Linked DNA regions of Homo sapiens: regions 1, 2, 3 and 4 are each linked to region 5. The links are contacts of gene promoters, found by promoter capture Hi-C in blood cells and fetal thymus (Javierre and others, 2016). All regions are on one chromosome and are shown on one strand. The core of a region is centred on a gene start or on the middle of the fragment in contact, and the rest is flanking DNA. Distances in the headings are between cores, read along the strand shown.

Region 1 (2,700 bases), core at 8-2,507, 760 kb before region 5:
GGAACTTTTTCCTCCCTGAATTACAAAAGCACACTAAAATGGGGTGGGTTGAAGCTCCTAAAAACAAGCTTAATCCAATCCCAGGGCAAATCAGGTCATGGATTTAAACCCACACGCAGCCCTTTCACTCTGTTGGAGATGGCAAGAAATAAGCTCTTCTCTGTTACTCCAATGAGGACAGATTTAGAGGAAGGAAGCAGATTACATTGTAGCAGGAGGAATTTAGGTTAGAGATAAGGAAGAACTTTTTCCCTGGGCTGGCAGGCAATCAGGACACTACAGAACACACTTCCCCTGCCAAGGCAGCATGTTGGGGCTTCTTTTGTGAATCTGAGAACGCACAGACCTTTGGCTGTTTCAGATGGCAAAGGAACAAGGTCTTGGGGCAGGGGACCAGCCTTGTTAACTCCTAGAGCCCCAGCAGACCCCAAAACTCAACAACTGTACAGGCATCTATCTTATCCACACACTGTTCCTTTGTTCCCAAAGACCAGAGGAACCCCTAACATACTGAGTCAGGTAGATACCATTGGCAAATCAGCTTGTGAATGGGCCTGGCACCACCTCTTAAGACAGCAGGAAGGCTCTGGAAGACACAGGTCCTCCTCAGTTCTCACTCTCCTATCACACAGACCTGGGGGAAAGTTTTATTGAGGTCTCGCCTCGATCCATCCTTCATGTGGTGAGAACATTTCCTCTTGTGCAGTTTCCAGGCAGGCCAAGTCCTTGTACAAATGCTTTTGGTACATTTATGGGTCACTGTGTGATTCATTCAACACAGTCAAAGATGCAGCAAAGATGTACCACGTACCCACTGTGTGCCAGGCCCTGTGCCAGGGACTAGGGATACAAAGGTGAACCAAGCAGCCATAGACGCTGCCCTGAAGAGCTTAGGAATAGCATCGACATAGGCCACAGGAGACAATCTACGTCTTGAAGACACTGAGTGTGTCATCCCGAGTTCCCTTTCTCTCCCCTTGGGTAGAGACATTTCCTGATGGGTAGAGATCCAGGAGTTACTTGCTCTCCTGGGCCTGCCCTGTCATGATGCATGTGAGCCACCAGAGGGCACCAGAAGAATTCAGACCAGAACTCTGCACTGTCTCCTAGCTTCTACCATGGCTGGAAATTTCGCCTGTGATTTTCAAACCTGCCCCCCATTTTCCCCTAGTCAGACTGCCCAAGTTGGCCTCACCAGCCAGTTGAAAAGCCAACCCCTGGTGTTGCAGGGAACATTTCCTAACAATAACAACTGCTGCTCACGTGCCTACTATGTGGCTTTGATCGCTAAACCTCCCAAGAACATGTGCAGTTACTTAATCCTCTTCACAACCCACTTCACTGTTGAGGAAACTGAAGCACAGAGAAGCTAAAATTGCAATTTGCCCTAAATTACAGAGAGTTTTGAACCTTCATCGAAACATCTGGCCTCCTTTCATTGCCTTAAGCTGCTATCCATCCATCCTCCTAGGCCACACTGAAGCTGAGCCATGTCCCTGTTCAGGATGATACCCCACAGTGGGAAGGTGGATCAGGCTGGGAACTTGAAGGCCATGTCTCCTGGAGGACATGAAGGAAGTGCCTGCCCTCACCTCTCTGCTGATGTCCAAGTCATAGTCTTGAGGCTCCAGGTCCAACTCAGTGACAGGCATGGCCTGCACTTTCAACCAGCCATTCTCCTCCTTGTCCTTTTTTTCCCCTTGCACGACCCGTTCCAGCAACTGCAGGTCAAAGTCCTGCTCACGCTTCCACTGGCAACAGAACAAGAGGTTAAACGTAGTCGCTTCCTGATTGCTGAAAGAGCCCGGCTGGTCACCTTTTTCCATGGGGTCCTTTGGAAGATGAACCTGTGATCCCCTTAGGGAAAAGCTGTATGTGCAATAGAGAATGAAGCTGCTGTCCCCTTCATATGGGCTGTTCCAGACTGCTAAGTGCTCTCTGATCTGGGTTCCCAGAGGTTTCAAACATACACCCTTGGGGCACAGGTCTAAGACTCATGACTTCAGGCTCACAGTGGTCCCCAGGGAAATAGAAGGCTCCCAGAGAGGGTGACCTCCAAACAACTTGGGACAGAGTTCTAGAGAAGGGATTTGTCCCTTCCACTCTCTACAGCTGGTTCAGGAGACATACGTCCCAGGCTCAGAATTAATGGAAAAACACGCCCTTCAAGGCCCTGCTAAGCAAGAAGAATAACCAAGGATCTTTCTATTGGGAATTTTCAACAAGATAACATTCGTAGGTGGGGGATCTCGCACTTACAGTAGGGCTGGGGAGGTACAAGCAAAAGCAGCTTGGAGCCAATGAGGCAGAAAAACTGCTGTATGAGACCCATCTATTTGAGATAGATGTTTTCTTTAAATTAGAAAAAAAAACTAAATCATATAAAATTGAAATGCTAAATCAAATGGAATGTTTCTAAGGCTGTTTCACAGTATCAACTTTGTAACAAGCTTCCCAAGAGGGAAAATCTAACCGATAAGATCCAACCATGACTGTCCAGCTCCGTGGTGACTTCCTGTTGACCCAGGACCTGCATCCTCACAGGCCTTTGACCGCTGAGCAGGTTGTTGAGAACAGAGCAGGCTCAAAGCCTCTCTTCCCCTGAGCAAAACCAAAGCAGATGCTTATCTATCCCAGGCCATCTTCTCTCTCCCATCCATCCACCTCAAAGCCCCAAATGGTCCTGATTGTCTTTGATGC
Region 2 (2,700 bases), core at 133-2,632, 740 kb before region 5:
AGGGGAGAAAAGCAGCCCCTTGCTCAGCCCGTCCTGAGGGAGACAGGTCTGCCACCCTCTACGCACAGTGGACTCTCTGGAGAGCTCAGCTCGGATATGGACAAGGTCCTCCTGCAGCAACTTCTGCTGGTAGGCAATCTTCTCCAAGTGCTGGGGCTGGTCTCGGTACTGCTCCATCTGTCTGTGCAACACCTCCAGCACAGATTCTAGCTGGTCCTGCACCACGAAGGGCCAAAAAACAGCAGGATAGGAGGACAGTCCCCAGAGGCCTCCCCATACCACACCAGGAACCAAAGCTACTGGACCTAACCAAGGCCGAAGGGATCAGCGCTGAGATGTGGGCCCACAGTCGGGGCTCTGATGCCAGCTCTGACTCTGTCTAGGGAGTAGGCTGGGGAAAGTACCTAACAGCTCTGTGCCTCAATTTTGTCATCTATAAACTAGGGATACAGCTGTCTAACTCCTTATGGGATAAACTAAGAGAATAAACTAAGCTAAGAGGATAAATCAAAGAATTAAAAAAACAAAAAACAAAAACCTCTTTAGCCTCCTAGGGAAAAGAGTATATTGTCAACCTCCAGCATCACGAATTTAAAATGCAAAAGGAAAAAAATACTTTAAGAATAGAAAAGGCCAAATGTTGGTGGCCCCTGGCCCATTCCGGCACTCCCATCCAGACTTGCTGCCTCCATAGCCCAGATCCTAGGAGACAAGGAGCTTTAGGAAGCAAAGGCCTCTGCCCTGTAATGACTACAGCCACTTCCTCCAAAGGAACCCTGCTTCCCTGGGGTTCAGGGACCTGGGGTCATCACATATAAGCCAGTGGAGCTCCTCTCCCAGGCTCACCTCACAGGGCCTCCACGGAGAGGTAAGCCAAAGCAGAATGGGGGCAGGAGGGTCTCTATAAGATAGAAACCCCTAAGAAACACCATTTAAACACAAAGGCTTTTTTTTTTTTCCTCCTGAGACGAAGTCTTCCTCTGTTGCCTAGGCTGGAATACAGTGGCGTGATCTCGGCTCACTGCAACCTCTGCCTCCCGGGTTCAAGCAATTCTTCTGCCTCAGCCTCCTGAGTAGCTGGGATTACAGGTGCCCACCACCATGCCCAGCTAATTTTTGTATTTTTAGTGGAGACAGGGTTTCACCATGTTGGTCAGGCTGGTCTCGAACTCCTGACCTCATGATCCACCTGCCTTGGCCTTCCAAAGTGCTGAGATTACAGGCATGAGCCACCGCACCTGGTGCATTTTTTTTTAAATAAGCTAACATCTGCTCTTCAATACTAACATGAGGGTCCAGCCTATGTCTCAAGAAAGACAGGACAAAATGTCCCTCTGCCCATTCCAAGATTATTCAAAACTGACACGTACTTTGTTCTCTTTAAGGGCTCGTATCTTGTCTTCCAAGTCCTGGAGGACCCTGTCTTGTTCACAGAAGATGCTCAGTTTGACCTAAAAGCAAGAACAGGTGGAGAGGGCCTGGGGTGATGAGAAAAGGACATGACCTTGGGATTGCAATCAGACAGCCTTTGGCTACAGAACCATCCAAGCCCTGCCTGAAGCTGTTCACCCGGGGTCTGGGTCAGGAGGCAGCTGAGGGGTCAGCGTGTCACTCTGCTCACTCACGTCAGTGTCGCTCTCAGCGATCTTCACAGGCTTCAGACTTCGATCCTTGAGAAGGTCCCGGCCTGTCATCTGGGAGGCGAACAATTTAAAAGAGATTTAACCATGGTGTTTGAGATCAGAACTCAGGAAAGAAAATTCATCCTATAATGGATGGTGTGGAAGTCCTTGGCAGTGGCAGGTAGGGTCATAGTATGAGAGGGACAAAAACTTGGGCCATACTTCGCTATTTCTATGCCTATTTCATTTTAGGAAAAAACCAAAACCTTTTGATGATTCTAGTAATGCTGGTAAGTCCTTTGAGTTAAAGAAAATGTAGATGTTCAAGTTAAAGGATCATCAATTTTAAAAGTATATATTTGCCTAAAATGAATGTGAAAAATCAGCATGAATCTTGGAAGATTTGCCACCGATAAGACAGAGGTGTACTACTGAACGTGGGAACAAACACAAGTTACGAAGCCCATCACCCCCTGCCCAGGGTGGTGAGATGGGCAGACCCAGAGGAACAAACAAATCCCTTGACCATTGTCAAGCCTTAGTTTAATGAAGTCTCTGAGCAGCCCACTTCCCCGTGGGTAAGGCCAGCCTTCCTTACCCTTTACCATTTGGGAAGAAGACCTGGCCAAGGTAAAAAGGAACCTGGCTAGTTCCCAGCAAGGGTTTTTAATTGTTCCCTGAATAACTGAGGCTAGGCTGTACTTGTGTAAGTTACAAGAAAGGAAACCATAAAGCAATATACAAAAGTCACCCAAACTTGCGGGCCAATGGGATTTTACATTTCCCATCCCTCACTTGACTCAAAGTAGGCAATATGCTGCCTGTCTCTCACTGACTCCTGAGAATCTAAATCTTACTTATCCCATTTTTCCATTTCCCCCAATTTCTTTCTTGCCAAAAGTCATGCAGGGGCTGAGGGGAGTGACTTTCACAGATGCACCCTCCCATGGCCAAGATAAGGCCAGGGAGAACCAAGTCTATTTTGCCTAATGTAGGGGAAACCACCTCACTGAGCTCTATTTTGCAGATCTGACCAGGAAAATGGAGGGTGGAGCTAACAGTGGCAGAGACAGGTGGT
Region 3 (2,700 bases), core at 45-2,544, 590 kb before region 5:
ACATATATTTGAAAATAGTATTTTTTTGACAACTGACACTACAATAATTCTGAGGTTCCCCACCAAGGGGTCAGCCCAAGATTTGGGGAACCCTTGCCCTAAATGACACAGGGAGGTCAAAGAAAAGTTTCATGGAGGCAGTGAAGTTTGAGCTATGCCTTAAAGGCTAAGGATTAAGTTGCCAGATGCACAGGAAGGGACAATGAAAGGACACTGTAGACACAGGAAACAGCAAAGGTAAAGGCATGGTGAGGATACTATTAGTTCCTATTGGATTACAATCTCAGAGACCAGTCTTAAACCTTGGTCTTTTTCACAGTAATCAGCAAAATGCCTTGTACTGATTAACCAAACGAACATAAGAAATTTTAAATGAGTATGAAGAATCCAAAGAAAGTTATAAGAAAGTTCTTTTGTGAATCCTACAGTGACTATAATCTGTAAGACTTAAAGTCCTAAGATCTTGTGCCAAAAGAAAATGAACACAATAAGAACAATTTTGTACACTATTTCCAATTTAAAAGATTAAATAAGCTAAACCAAATGATAAGGACCGGGGCTTTCCAGAATAGTAATAAAACCAAGATTCTGGATCACATGCTTGACAGGTAGATTTCATTTTATGCTCTACATATTTTTTTGCACTGAAATACACAGAAAAACTTACACAAAGTTTATATTAGAGCCCTTTATTTATTAATTCTTAATATTTGAATAAATAATTCTGTATTTAAGGGCACCACTTTCACTGCCTCCTAAAGGTAAGTATACTTGGTTGACTGGAAAGGGCAGTGTTTTTCTAGTTTGTGTTTATTTTTCTGTTCAAACATATGAAAAGTCTATTCTTCACTGTGCAGGAAAATGCAAAGCAGATTTAGAGGGTGCTTATGGGTTTCTTTCACCTCTCCCTTAAGAAACTGGTAAGACAGGAATGTGACAAATGGCACAAGGTTTATAAAACAATAATTTGCCCTTTATCATGATTAGAAAGTTGGCTGACTGAACAGAAACTTATATAAAGTTCAGAAACAGACCCCTCACACACACAGGAAGCTACAATTAGTTGGGGAGTCATATGGAAATTTCAGGGCTTCACTGGTTGAGAAGCAAACAATGCAAAGATAGAGGACACTCCACAAGGCAAGAGGGATTTGTAGGGTTTCTGGCCTTACATATTTTGTTAAACAATAGCCAAAAAATAAGATAAAATAAAAATATCACTATAAATGTTTTCTTATCCAGCACTATTGGAGCAAACAATAAAGAACCAATAATGGCCAGGCACAGTGGCTCACACCTGTAATCTCAGCACTTTGGGAGGCTGAGGCAGGAGGACTACTTGAGGCCAAGAGTTCAAGACCAGCCCTGGCAACACTGTGAGACTCCATCTCTACAAAAACAACAACAACAACAACAAAAATTTAAATTAGCCATGTGTGGTAGTGCACACCTATAGTCTCAGTTACTCAGGAGGTTGAGACAGGAGGACTGCTTGAGCCCAGGAGTTCAAGGTTATAGTGATCTATGATCACACCAACACACTCCAGCCCGGGCAACAGAGCAAGACTCTGTCTTTAAAAAAAAAAAAACAAAAACTAATAAGATAGGATGCTGGATGCTGTTAGTTATTTGAAAGGTCACAGAAATTATTCAAATAAATTTCTTTGGAAGATAGCAAAATAAAACAACAAGAAAGTTAAATATTAACGACATACTTTACAGTTGTCTCATGTTTTCTTTTTTTTTTTTTGAGACAGAGTCTCGCTCTGTCACCCAGGCTGGAGTGCAATGGCGCAATCTCGGCTCACTGCAACCTCCGCCTCCCAGGTTCAAGCAATTCTCCTGCTTCAGCCTCCGGAGTAGCTGGGATTGCAGGCACCCGCCACCACACCCGGCTAATTTTTTGTATTTTTATTAGAGACGGGGTTTCACTATGTTGGCCAGGCTGGTCTCAAACTCCTGACCTCGTGATCCGCCCGCCTCAGCCTCCCAAAGTGCTGGGATTACAGGCATGAGCCACCATGCCTGGCCTCATGCTTTATTTTCACATATACTGTTTCATTTGAAACAGTTTTTGCAAATGTCAGAGTAATTTTTAATTCCCTTATCAGATGGATTTTTTATTTACTCAAATAATTCCCAAACAACTGTTGAACGCAAAGCACTATGCTAGGCGCCCTAGAGAATACAAAGAAGAAAACTGAAACCCCCAATGAACCCTGATGCTTAGGCTGCAGCAGGCTAACAGGAGAGACTTGCTGAATGAATGAATGGTTTTTCCTGGAGTATTCCTCTGCTACCCATCAACATGGCAACTTCCTACTTATCCTTCAAGGCCCAGTTCAAATATTGCTTCCTATTGAGCATTCCCTTTTCTGTATCCCATGGAATAAACTGCCCCTGTGTCCCTAAAGTGTTCTATACAAATACTCATGAAGATACTTGTTGCCTTATGGTTGTTTACTTACCTGTTTGTCCCACTGAACTGGGCTTAAAGGACCATGACCTACTCATTTTTTATTCCCCAGCATTTAGTATAGTGCCTGGCACCCAGTAGAGGTTCAGTTAGGTGTTTGCGTTAATCAAATAAGTCCACTGCTTTCAGAATAATAGAGGAGATGATGTATATAGTTAAGCTCAGAATCGATGAAGCTTAAAGAAAATAACTGCTTAGATGGAGCTCTAAGTTTTTATTGTTTT
Region 4 (2,700 bases), core at 201-2,700, 710 kb before region 5:
TCTCATGAGATCTGACGGTTTTAGAAGCGTCTTTTCTCTTTTTGCTTGGCACTTCTCCTTCCTGCCATCATGCAAAGAAGGACATGTTTGCTTTCCCTTCCACCATGATTGTAAGTTTCTTGAGGCCTCCCCAGCCATGTGGAACTGTGAGTCAATTAAACCTCTTTCCTTTATAAATTACCCATTCTCAGGCAGTTCTTTATAGCAGTGTGAGAATGGACTAATATACAGAGAGAACTGAGAAAAGCAAGCATTCTTCTCGCTGTTCACGTACCAATGTCTTTTCCATGGAAACCCCAAGCTTTGTGGAAAAAAATAATGCATCTTTGGAACTCCTTTTATCCAACAGAGGACATCTTTCCTCTCCAACCCCCACACTGTATCCACTGCCCTTCTGATAACAGCATTTCAATTTTCATTTGGGAATCACTTTCTCCTACCCTCAGTCCAGGTGGTTCAGGTGCTGCTGACTCCCTGTCCAGCTGAGGCTCCACAGTCTCAGTGACTGGTTCAGGAGTTGACTACTCCAGGCCAATCAGAGTTAGCCCTGGGACTTGGGTTGGAGCTGCTGCAACTATGTGGGAAGGCACTACTTGAGAATGAAGTTAACACAAAGGAAAGCAGATGGAGAAACATAGAATCCTAAAAACTTGGCTTAAGCTCCTACATCTAACCATATGTAAACCAGATATCTCTTTGGATTTTCTGGTTGTGAATAAATAAATTCCTTCTTTTTTTTTTCACAGCGTCTTGCTCTCTCACCCAGGCTGGAGTGCGGTGGCAATGATCACGGCTCACTGCAGCCTTGATCTGCTGGGCTCAAGTGATCCTCCCACCTCAGCCTCCTGAGTAGCTGGGACTACAGGTGCATGCATGTTTTAATTAGCTCTGCTAATTAAAAAAAAAAAAAATCTGTAGAGACTGGGTCTTGCTATGTTGCCCAGGCTGGTCTCAAACTCCTGGGTTCAAGTGATCCACCTGCCTCAGCCCCCCAAAGTTTTATGATTACAAGCGTGAGCCACCCTGCCGGGGGCCTAAATTCCCTTTTTCAGTTGTTAGAGTTTGGTTTCTGCTACTTATACTGAAAGGGGTCCTGCCTATTAATCATTTCACAATGACATATTGAGATAGTAATGAGTGAGGGCCCATTCATTGTTAACATTCAGTGGCTCTATAAATTCCAGTAGGAGGAAAATACGGGAAATATTCAGGAGCCCATACTTACAGAAAAAGTAATTCAGCCGGGTGCAGTGGCGTGCCAAGGGAGGTGAATCACCTGAGGTCAGGGGTTCAAGACCAGCCCGACCAACATGGTGAAACCCCATCTCTACTAAAAATACAAAAATTAGCTGGGCATGGTGGTGTGCACCTGTAGCCCCAGCTACTCAGGAGGCTGAGGCAGGAGAATCGCTTGAACCTGGGAGGCACAGGTTGCAGTAGCTGAGATTGCACCACTGTGCTCCAGCCTGGGCAACAGAGCAAGACTCCGCCTCAAAAAAGAAAAAGTAATTCTTACCGTAAGTTTATAAAGGGACAACTCTGTTCCACAATGTACATATGACAGGTTTCTTTTTTCTTTTTTCTTTTTTTCACACGATAGGTTTTAGCTTTGTCTTTCCTTTCTCCCTTTAAGCCTCCATAACTAGATTAGTGTAAACTGAACCAACAGTCCTCAAGTTGCCTAAGTTGGCCATTCTTTTTTTTTTTCTTTTTCTGATACAGGGTCCCACTCCGTCACCAAGGCTGGAATGCACTAGCGTGAACAGAGCTCACCGCAGCCTCAACCTCCTGGGATCAAGTGATCCTTCCACTTCTGACTCCTGTGTAACTGGTACCACAGGCGCCTGCCACCATGTCTGGCTAATTTTTAATTTTTTTTTTTTGTAGAGACAAGGTCTTTCTTTGTTGCCCAGGCTAGTCTTGAAATCCTGAGCTCAAGCAATCCTCCCACCTCAGCTTCCAGAAGTGCTGGGATTACAGGCACCAACCACTGTGCCAGGCCTATTTTCTTTATTATTTCTCACATCCAGGAAACTACCCATAGAGGATGTGCTGAGGCTACTTCGGAGATGATGAAGGCTCCAGCTGCCCTCTGGATCACACCCTGGCCAAGTCGCTGAAGATTTAGAATCTTGCATGCTGCTTTGGTTTCACTTGCTCTGATATTTCTAAGTGGTTACTCCAATTGTGATACCCAGGTAATTGTATCTCCTTGTTATTCACACTCCAAAGATAAAGAGCACCTTGTCATAAAAGCCAGACAGTGAAACAAATATGCCACCTATGTGTATGACATTAGAATTGAGAGGAAATGAAGGATTCTTCAACTCTGGGACCCAAAGATTGTGGGCACAATGTCTCAGTCCAACCAATTGTAATGTGGATTTTTCTTCCTTCCCTAACCATTCACCATGTATTTACCAAGCACCTATACAGCCCCCACTGGGACAGGCACCTGGGACTATAAGAGAGTAGCAAAGAAAATAGCCTTTGCCTTCAAAGTCAGACAACCCTGGAGCCCAACTTAATTATGGTAACCACATTGAATACTGTTCCCATAAACACCTGACCCTCAAATCATGGAGTCTGTTAGTCTTCCCTAAGCTTGGAGCTAATTTAACCATAATTCTTAGTCCTTACTATGTATGTACATGAGTATATACACTTCCATATATGCCAGTGCTTCCTGGAAATAAATTT
Region 5 (2,700 bases), core at 81-2,580:
GGCACAGACTGGGTATGGCTGAGAGGATGCTCAAAACATGCTTATTAAATGAATAACTGACCCCGGGCCCTTGGCCCCAAGCCCCTGTGGCCCCTACACTGGCTAGCTCCTTGGGCTCCTATGGGCCTCTTTATGGGAAGGAAGGAGTTAAGCACCCTGACCTGCCCTACCTGAGCTCAGCTCTCAAACCAGGAAGAGGTTTGGCTTGGTCTAAAGACACTGCCCCTGGGGTCTTTGGGAGAGCCTTGGGTCACACAGTTATCAATAGTTAAGTTATCAATAGTTACCTGCCCCTCAGGCAGGGCCTGTGGGGAGCTCCAGATACCACCCACCCCCCCCAAGCGGCTTCATCCCCAGACTCAGAGGCATCCTAAGACTTGGTGGGGAAGTAGGCTGGATCTCTTTGATGGCCCTCTCTGGTCTCAGGGCCTCAGCAGATTCTGCACAGCTTTGTGAATCATTCTCGAAATGCCCTGTGTGAAACCTGGCCACTTCCAGAGATGGTCCTTGAGAATCCCAGACCACCAGTGAGGCCCCTCACTGGGACACACCAGGGTGGACCCGGCTCTGCCTGAAGGATCTGGCCGGCCAGAGCCCAGCTCCGACGCCCTCAGTACCTCCTCCCTTCCTCCCCACCGCACCCGGGTCAGCACCAGCTCCTCAGCTACTTCTCAGACCCTAAGAAACGCCCTTAGGCAGGCAGGGCTGAAATGCTTCTAACTCATGTTCTGAGGTCAAAAGGCAGAGAGAGAGACGTCTAGTTTCCCTTCTCCCAACCCTCACCTCTCAGATACTGCCCCAGACTGTCTCCACATGCCTCAACAGCCCTGAGCTGGGGGCACTAGGAAGGAGAGGGGCTTGCCCACAAAGGGGGCACCTCAGAAAAGCGGCCAAGACTGGAAGGAATTCAAACCCCAGAGACGTCCCTGCCCCTGGAAGGCAGAGGGAGAAAGGCTGGCAGAAGATCGACTCGTTTAGCAGTCCTTGAGCCGGGAGTCCCCGCATTCCCTCCCTCACTTTACTGGGGATCCCTGCTGCCAGCCAGACGACCCTCGGGTGTCCCAGCCCAACCAGAGCCATCAGGTGGGGCCGGAAAAGGGAGGGGCAGTGCCGGGGTGTCCACCCCCTACCCACCGCGCCCAGGACTCCGGAGTCCCAGAAGCCTGGGGCGCCCTGCAGCTCTGACCTTATGCCGGAATTCTCGGGCCACTTTTCGGTCCATGGCTGGGCCAGGTCCAGCTGCGTCGTTGCACGACCCGTTCCTTCGGGTGCCCGGCTGCCAGGAGCTGGAAAGAGCCGCGACCGCGACCGGGCCAGCCGCCCTCGGAGCTGGGGGCGGGGCCTGAGCGCGGAGGGGCGGGGCCAGGCCTCTGTGGGGCGGGGCCGCTGCGAGGCTGGAGTCGAAGGTGCTGAGTCGTCGCCTCCCACTGAAGCCTGGGAGCAAATGGGCCCCAGTGTGCCTATGGGCCTGAGGTGGCAGTAGCTGGGCTTCAAGCTGGTATTTCTCTGGAAGTGGTACCTGAACACATGCGTTTGAGGAAGAAGATCGTGGAGACGTAGGGAGGAGGTTTGGGACTTTTTTGTGGGGACCGGAATAGAGAGATACGGAAACTATTTACACGGGCGGGGGGCGGGGCAATCTAGTCCGTTTTCTCTGGATATTCTTTTTTTTTCCCCCCCGAGACGGAGTCTCGCTCTGTCGCCCAGGCTACAGTGCAGTGGCATGATCTTGGCTCACTGCAAGCTCCGCCTCCCGGGTTCACGCCATTCTCCTGCCTCAGCCTCCCGAGTAGCTGGGACTACAGGCGCCCGCCACCACGCCCGGCTAATTTTTTTTTTTTGTATTTTTAGTAGAGACGGGGTTTCACCGTGTTCGCCAGGAAGGTCTCGATCTCCTGACCTCGTGATCTGCCCACCTCGGCCTCCCAAAGTGCTGGGATTACAGGCGCGGGCCACCGCGCCCGGCCTTCTCTGGATACTCTTGTCGAGGTTCATGGCCCTCCTGGACTGTCAGCCCTTGCTACGCCCTCACCTCCAGCGTACCTTCAGTCCTGGCTTCCTCCTGCACTTTTCCACCAGGGAGAAATCAATCCTTGTTCTGTGAATTCCTTGGGGACAGGGCTGGGTTTTACTGTGGGCCGCAGGGGTCTGAATCAGTGTGTGTGAGAGTGCCCCCCTCAACTGATTTCCCCTCCCACCTTCCCTAACACCTCCACCCCCAACAAAACAAGACAAAACAAAACCCAAACCCAACACACTCACATATCCATCGAAGCCTGGCAGAGCCTGGCAGTGACATTTTGATCTATGGCTGACCTTCACCCAGGGCCCAGACCCTCTGGTTCATTTAATTCAATTTGGTCAGCATTTGCTTAACTCCTAGGTCTAGTGCTTGGTGCAAAGACAATGATGAACCAGGCCTGGAAAGGAATGAAAGGAAAGATTCATCAAAGACAATGATGAACCAGGCCTGGAAAGAGATGAAAGGAAAGAGGGGCTAGGAGAGGGGTGATAAAAATGTGTAAATCAGAGGCTAAGTATGGGGCTTGTGCCTGAACTTAACCCAGGGAGGCACCTGAGCCCTTTGTGCCCTGTCAAGGGCAGGGGCAAGGAGATGGACAGCAGCTTACATCAGGTAACCACTTACAATTGTAACTCTGGGGCACCTAAACACCCCTCTGCGTCCCTCTCCCCAATAGC

The links. The method cuts DNA at HindIII sites, captures the fragments that hold promoters and counts their contacts. A CHiCAGO score of 5 or more calls a contact.
Region 1: a fragment that was not itself captured here is called in contact with the fragment with the promoter of USH1C in region 5 in 3 of 17 cell types (naive CD4 T cells, naive CD8 T cells and activated CD4 T cells); the score reaches 5.6 in naive CD4 T cells.
Region 2: a contact is called between a fragment that was not itself captured here and the fragment with the promoter of USH1C in region 5, in 2 of 17 cell types (naive CD8 T cells and total CD8 T cells). The highest score is 6.5, in naive CD8 T cells.
Region 3: a contact is called between a fragment that was not itself captured here and the fragment with the promoter of USH1C in region 5, in 1 of 17 cell types (M0 macrophages). The highest score is 5.4, in M0 macrophages.
Region 4: a contact is called between a fragment that was not itself captured here and the fragment with the promoter of USH1C in region 5, in 4 of 17 cell types (naive CD8 T cells, total CD8 T cells, activated CD4 T cells and 1 more). The highest score is 6.4, in naive CD8 T cells.

The regions. Positions count from the first base shown.
Region 1 is chr11:16,784,637-16,787,336 of GRCh38, forward strand. It overlaps PLEKHA7 (pleckstrin homology domain containing A7), which reads right to left. Exons shown (of 27, transcript NM_001329630.2): 24 at 1,593-1,751. Among named protein-coding and RNA genes, the nearest start is that of C11orf58, 47 kb to the left of the region's middle. The HindIII fragment of the contact is 2,382 bases long and covers 67-2,448 here.
Region 2 is chr11:16,801,602-16,804,301 of GRCh38, forward strand. It overlaps PLEKHA7 (pleckstrin homology domain containing A7), which reads right to left. Exons shown (of 27, transcript NM_001329630.2): 14 at 1,626-1,694; 15 at 1,371-1,451; 16 at 67-216. Among named protein-coding and RNA genes, the nearest start is that of C11orf58, 64 kb to the left of the region's middle. RefSeq lists an enhancer at 549-1,748. The HindIII fragment of the contact is 4,430 bases long and covers 1-2,700 here.
Region 3 is chr11:16,952,959-16,955,658 of GRCh38, forward strand. The region is part of intron 3 of PLEKHA7 (pleckstrin homology domain containing A7); the gene reads right to left. Among named protein-coding and RNA genes, the nearest start is that of SNORD147, 28 kb to the left of the region's middle. The HindIII fragment of the contact is 2,712 bases long and covers 1-2,650 here.
Region 4 is chr11:16,828,282-16,830,981 of GRCh38, forward strand. The region is part of intron 9 of PLEKHA7 (pleckstrin homology domain containing A7); the gene reads right to left. Among named protein-coding and RNA genes, the nearest start is that of C11orf58, 91 kb to the left of the region's middle. The HindIII fragment of the contact is 2,303 bases long and covers 300-2,602 here.
Region 5 is chr11:17,543,086-17,545,785 of GRCh38, forward strand. USH1C (USH1 protein network component harmonin) reads right to left here and starts at 1,331. Exons shown (of 27, transcript NM_153676.4): 1 at 1,187-1,331. The coding sequence starts at 1,222. The HindIII fragment of the contact is 3,207 bases long and covers 1-2,700 here.